2 separate regions of the Homo sapiens genome follow, and region 1 is linked to region 2. Evidence: promoter capture Hi-C in 16 types of primary human blood cells and fetal thymus (Javierre and others, 2016). All regions are on one chromosome and are shown on one strand. Each heading gives the region's core, a stretch centred on a gene start or on the middle of the fragment in contact. The rest is flanking DNA. Distances are from core to core; before and after follow the strand shown. Region 1 overlaps SSH1 (slingshot protein phosphatase 1). Region 2 holds the start of ALKBH2 (alkB homolog 2, alpha-ketoglutarate dependent dioxygenase).

Region 1 (3,171 bases), core at 171-2,670, 270 kb after region 2:
AAAAATTAGCTGGGCGTGGTGGCGCATGCCTGTAATCCCAGCAAGGTTGGGGGCTGAGGTGGGAGGATTGCTTGAGCCCAGGAGGTCGAGGCTGATGTGTCACCACAGCCAGCTAGTTTTTTGTGGGTGTGTATGTAAATGAGGTCTCACTATGTTGCTCACTGTGTTGCTCAGTGAGCCACGATTGCGCCACTGCACTCCAGCCTGGGTGACAAAAGAAAAGGACCCTATCTCAAAAAGAAAGAAAGAGGAAAAAGTGCTTGCATGTAAGTGGATCTTTGTCGTAGGTGGACAGCATCTCAGGGCATTTCTTGGAGAGGCAGTGCATAATTGAATGTCTGTGAGCTGAGAAGGCCTTTACCTTTCAGAACAGCAGCAGGTGAAACCAACCAGCTATTGTGGCCAGTTTTCTTGTGAACATTTTGTTTGTTTAACCTCAAGTCATTCAGCTTCATTTTAGATCTGAGTGCTCAGGTTAGAATTCTACACCATGCAATTTATAGCAAACACCAAGGCTCAGTCAGTATTTTCACATACTGATGTTGATGATATTTAGGTCTGTTTTAAGCAAAGAAAATAACTGTCCTGTACAAGGAGGCAGTGTGGTTTGTGGAAATAGTATTTGTTTTGAAGCCAGGCAGACCTGTCTTCTGATCCTAGTTCTCCAACTTACTAAGCCGTAACAGGTCGACTTCTAAGCCTCAGTTTCCTAGTCTTTACAATGGGCATCAAATACTGGTGCCTCAGACAATATGGAAATTTAGAGTTATGCGTGTAACATACCTACCTGTAGTAGGTGCTGTATATATATATGGGTAACTATCATTGTTATTACGATGACTTCTAGTACAATACAGCTATAAACAGACCCTTCATTCTTTTTTTTTTTTTAATTATATGAAAAGTTTTTTTAGAGACGGATCTCATTCTCTTGCCCAGGCTGGCGTGCAGTGGCCTGATCATAGCTCACTGCAGCCTCGACCTCCTGGGCTCAAGTGATTGTCCAGCCTTAGCTTCCTGAGTAGCTGGGACCATAGATGCGTGTCACCACACCCAGCTAGTTGTGTGTGTGTGTGTGTGTGTGTGTGTAGATGAGGTCTCACTCACTATGTTGCTCAGGCTGGTCTCCAACTCCTGGCCTCAAGCCATCTCCCCACCTCAGCCTCTCAAAGCATTGGGATTATAGGTTTGAGGTGCCATACTCAGCCAGATTCTTCGTTCTTGAATTTGCTAATTATTCTGCCCTCTTAGAAATGTAGCTGTTGTTCATGTTTTAATTGTAACACATATGACAAAGCAAATGCTCAAGCTCTGCTCACTAAGTGTCAGATACCTCCTTCCTCTAATCCAAAGACTAGAAGGGTAGGATGCAAGCCACCAGCTGGCTGACTCTTGTGCCCTGAGGTCTGGAGTGGACGATGAGGTCGGAAGGCAGAGGGGCCGCCAGCTGTCCACAGTTGGTCTGTAAATGACCTTGGGACAGACGCAGACTAGACTTACGTTAGTTCCTTTTTTTCCCTAGAATTACCATCAAGTCTCCTGAATGTACCAGAGGCCCCCCAGTAACCACTGTGCAGAGCTGAGTACAATTGAGGGTTAATTCTGTCCTTGGAAAAGTAGTTCAGTTTGTTTCAGCCAGTCCAGTCAATTTGAGACCCTTTCTAGGGCTTATATTCTCTGATTTTTTTGTGTGTGGATGTCAGACTGGGGTTTGGATTTCTGTCTGTCAGCAGTTCCATATCTCAGCAAACAATCCCACTGAAAGAAGTTTATCTGTGTGGAAAATGTCCCTTTCATTTAGGCATTTATCAGACAGGGGTTTGTTTTTGCTTTCCCCAATGCAGTTCTGTGACTCGGGTAGATGGTGGGAGGGCCCAGGCAGGTGAAGAACCAGCTCATGGTCGTTGTCGTTGTGTTGCATTGGTGACATGACGGGTGGAGGAAGGGGCTGGGGAGGTCTATGGCTTTCTTTAATGTGAACCCTTATCTCCAAATCGCTCATCATAGGAAGCAGGGTCAACACAGGGTGTTATACACTGTGGAATTGTATAACTGGAGAGGACAGATAAGAGGGGCATGGTTCTTTTCTTTTTTAAATTTTACTTATTGTGGAAAGAATGCTTAATTGGCCTGGGTTTGGTGGCTCATGCCTATAATCCCAGCACTTTGGGAGGCTGAGGTGAGAGGATCATTTGAGTCCAGGAGTTCGAGACCAGCCTGGGCAACATGGCAAAACCCTGTCTCTATTGAAAAAAAAAGAAAAAGAAAGAACGCTTAACATGAGATCTACCCTCCTGGCTAGAGGCACAAATTTCTAATGACCCAATTCCTCTCTGAGACAGGAAGTGCAATTTGGACATCATCTGTCCTTCTCCCTTAAAATGAAAAAGATGCTTTTGCAAAAGGAACAAACACAATGTTTCCTTTTGGAGCATTTGAGTGTGTAAGCATTATTGATCCTTTTGGGGTTGTAATTGTGATGTATAGAGTAATTTTTTTTCCTTTGTAGAGACAGGGTCTTATCGTGTTGCCCAGGGTGATCTCAAACTCCTGGGCTCCAGCGATCCTCCTGCCTTGGCCTCCCAAGTAGCTGGGACTACAGATGTGAACCAGAAAGCCCAGCTAATTTTTTACTTTTCTGTAGAGATGGGGTCTTGCCATGTTGCCCAGACTGGTCTTGAATGCCTGGCCTCAAGTGAGTCTCCTGCCTCGGCCTCCCAAAGCACTGGGATTACAGGTGTGAGCCACCACACCAGGCTGATATTAGCATCTCTACAGATGACCCTTTCTTCAGAAAGAAATCCTTGCAGATATAAAGAAAAATGTGTAAGCTAGAGAAAAAAAGCAACCTTGGAGTCACACCTGCTACTTACTAATTATGCACCTCCCTTACAACTTTCCCCTCCGTGAAAGTGTGCGCTTCTTCTGACAGGGTCTCTGCTTCGCGCGAGACTCATGGCCAGTAAGAGACTTTCCTCACTGCACTCCAGGAACACCTCCTGAACCCTGGGGCAGCTCAGAGAAGTTCAGAAGCCGTCCCTGGTTACTGCCTGTTTTACATAGTGAAGAAAAAAGAGTACATAATTTTTAGCAAGAAAAGAGAAAATGACAGATTGGTTTCTATTCAAATTATTTCTCTGGGCAACCAGCATACAGCTGCTATCTGTAGAG
Region 2 (3,093 bases), core at 588-3,087:
AGGAACAAATAAGTAATACAAATGTGCATATACGACTGGGCACAGCGGCTCATGACTGCAATTCCAGCACTTTGGGAGGCCAAGGCAGGCGGATTTCTTCAGCTCACCAGCTGAAGACTATGGAGACCAGCCTGGGCAACATGGCAAAAACCCATCTCTACAAAAAATACAAAAATTAGCCGGGTGTAGTGGTGCATGCCTGTAGTCCCAGCTACTTGGGAGGCTGAGGTGGGAGTGGAGCCTGGGAAGTGGAGGTTGCAGTGAGCCGAGATCATGCAACTGCACTCCAGCTTAGGCAGTAGAGCCAGACCTTGTCTCACAAAAAAAAGCGGGGAGGTGGGGGGGCGCATAAATGAATCTTAAAAGCAATATGCTTAAGTGAAAGAAGTCCCACAAAGGCATTTCTCATAGAGGCTGAGAGGTCCGAGGTTGAGGGGCTGCATCTGGTGAAAACCCTCTTGCTGGTGGGGACTCTGTTGAGTCCTGAAGCCGTGTAGGGCATCACATCGCGAGGGGCCTGAGTGTGCTAGCTCAGGTCTCTCTTCTTCCTTTTATAAAGCCACCAGTCCCACTCCCACGGTAACCCATTAACCCATTAACCCCTGAGCCCATTAATCTATTAATTCATTTATGAGGACATTATGACAGAGCTCTCATGTCCCAATCACCTCTTCAAGGCCCCACCTCTCAATACTGCCACACTGAGGATTAAATTTCAACGCGGATTTTGGAGGAACAGATATTCAAACCACGGCAATTCCCTGTATATGAAATTCTGGAAAAGGCAAAACTATAGGGAGAGAAGACAGATCAGTGGTTGCTGATGCTGGGTGATGGGCGAAGTTGATTAAGAGGCTGGAGCAGTTTTATGGAGGGACGGAACTGTCTTAGATCTTGATTGTGGTGGTGATCATACAATATTGTACATTTGTTGAAATCTGTCAAAACAAAGCCTCTGATCTCATGGAGCTTTCGTTCCATTGAGGGGAGACAGAGTAAATAAAAATTAGGAGCCGGTCGTGGTGGCTCACGCCTGTAATCCCAACAATTTGGGAGGCCCAGGTGGGAGGATCACTTGAGCCCAGGAGCTTGAGACCAGCCTGGGCAACATAGCAAGGCCCTATCTCTACTAAAAATAATAAAAAAATTATTTAGGGTGGGGTGGGATGTGCCTGTAGTCCCAGCTACTCCAGAGGCTGAGACGGGAGGATCGCTCTAACCCAGGAGTTCAAGGCTGCAGTGAGCTATGATCATGCCATTGCATTCCAGCTTGGGCAACAGAGTGAGATCCTGTCTCAAAAAAACAAAACAAACAAGAACAACATCAAAAAACAAGAAAACAAAGAAAAACGAGCAATAATGGAACCAACATTTATTTAGAGGACAGAGCATTTCTCATGCATCCTGTCATCTCCTCAGGCGCTCTCATGACATAGGTGCTGTAGTCCGCACTTCACAGATGAGGCAACTTAACCCCAGAGAGGTTAAGTGACCTGTGGGAGGCCACACAGCCAGGGCGGAGGAGACAGAAACAGAATCCACGATATCCGACTGCAGAACTCCTGCTCCCACTCGTGACAATATACTGGTGGCCCAACGCCCTTTCCGGACACCAAAGTAACCCTCACTGAGAAGTGACGCCAAGCCACAGTTCTCACCCCAGCCGTGATTCTCGACAGTGGCCCAACAGGTGATCAACGGGAAAGCGGCAGTGCTTGCCACACACGGGAGGCCAGCAGGTGGCACCAGGGGGCCGCCCGGCTGCTCTCTTTGCGCCCTAGCCTGCCGTAGTTCCCAGCGTGCTCCGGAAGTGACGCGACCGATTCGCTGGGGCGCGTCTTTCCCACCACGAGGCCACCAGGGTGACTGCGGGATTCCGATCTGCGCCGGAGCTGCGATGCTAGAGCACTCTTGCCACCCCCACCCCACGGACGTGTTGCAGTGATATCAGAATTTTGCGTGCGGTTTACCCGTGTTTAACCTCTTTGCGTCTCGCTTCTGAATCGTATCCACTTGAGCATCACTAGACTGATCTATTTTAACACTGGTGGGGGGCAGCGAGGTCAGTTATGGGTCCTTCCTCCTTAAAGGGGTGGACAGTTGACTTTGGGCAAACCTCTTCGCCTCTGTGGGCAACAGTTTCCCCTTCTGCAAAATGAGGGTTTGGATTGTAGTTTCTAAGTTTAGCTGTGGCGTGCGAATTCCCAGGAGGTAGTTCTTTAAAAATTCAGGTGCTCAGGCGTGGAGTGCAGACCTCTGGGTTTTTGCAAGCTAGCCAGCTGATTCTGATGCACAGGTGGACGTGGGAGACCCTGGATCAGATTGTCCCTAGGGTCCCTTCCGGCTTTAACATCTTCTGTTTCCTTTCTAGGACATGGTTTTAAACTTTAAAATGAAAATGTGAAACTAGGAATGTTGCTGTGAGACCCCTTGGACAAACAGATTTTTGCACTGGGGATAGAACTTGAGCAATTTCTGTCTTGGCCTCGCCACTGACGTCCCTTCTTTCCTGTGGGGACAGGATGGACAGATTCCTGGTGAAAGGGGCTCAAGGGGGCCTTTTGAGGAAGCAGGAGGAGCAAGAGCCAACTGGAGAAGAGCCAGCTGTGTTGGGAGGAGACAAAGAAAGCACAAGGAAGAGGCCCAGGAGAGAGGCCCCAGGGAATGGAGGCCACTCAGCAGGCCCTAGCTGGCGGCACATTCGGGCTGAGGGCCTGGACTGCAGTTACACAGTCCTGTTTGGCAAAGCTGAGGCAGATGAGATTTTCCAAGAGTTGGAGAAAGAAGTAGAATATTTTACAGGTAAGCAGAGGGGTGTGTGTGTGTGTGTGTGTGCATTGAGGGCTTGTTTGGTGCAATTAATGATCGTATGTTTGGAGAAATCTGAACTCAGGATCCATTATTTACTGATGGGTTCACTAATGGATTCATCCAATATTCTCTGAGCACCTCTGGGCTAAGCCCCTTAGGTGCTTGGGACATAAACTTGAAAGAAACTGGATTGCCTGTCTACTAGGAGCTGACAGATGACTCGAGTGAATCTCTCCTTGGCTACTGATGAGTATCTTCTGGGAAAGTTTACAAAACAAAGTA

The links. The method cuts DNA at HindIII sites, captures the fragments that hold promoters and counts their contacts. A CHiCAGO score of 5 or more calls a contact.
Region 1: a fragment that was not itself captured here is called in contact with the fragment with the promoter of ALKBH2 in region 2 in 2 of 17 cell types (M0 macrophages and M2 macrophages); the score reaches 7.1 in M0 macrophages.

The regions. Positions count from the first base shown.
Region 1 is chr12:108,819,135-108,822,305 of GRCh38, reverse strand. All of the region lies in intron 3 of SSH1 (slingshot protein phosphatase 1), which reads left to right. Among named protein-coding and RNA genes, the nearest start is that of MIR619, 16 kb to the left of the region's middle. RefSeq lists an enhancer at 270-319. The HindIII fragment of the contact is 5,107 bases long and covers 1-3,171 here.
Region 2 is chr12:109,092,216-109,095,308 of GRCh38, reverse strand. ALKBH2 (alkB homolog 2, alpha-ketoglutarate dependent dioxygenase) reads left to right here and starts at 1,837. Exons shown (of 4, transcript NM_001145374.2): 1 at 1,837-2,062; 2 at 2,372-2,802. The coding sequence starts at 2,523. The HindIII fragment of the contact is 3,285 bases long and covers 1-3,093 here.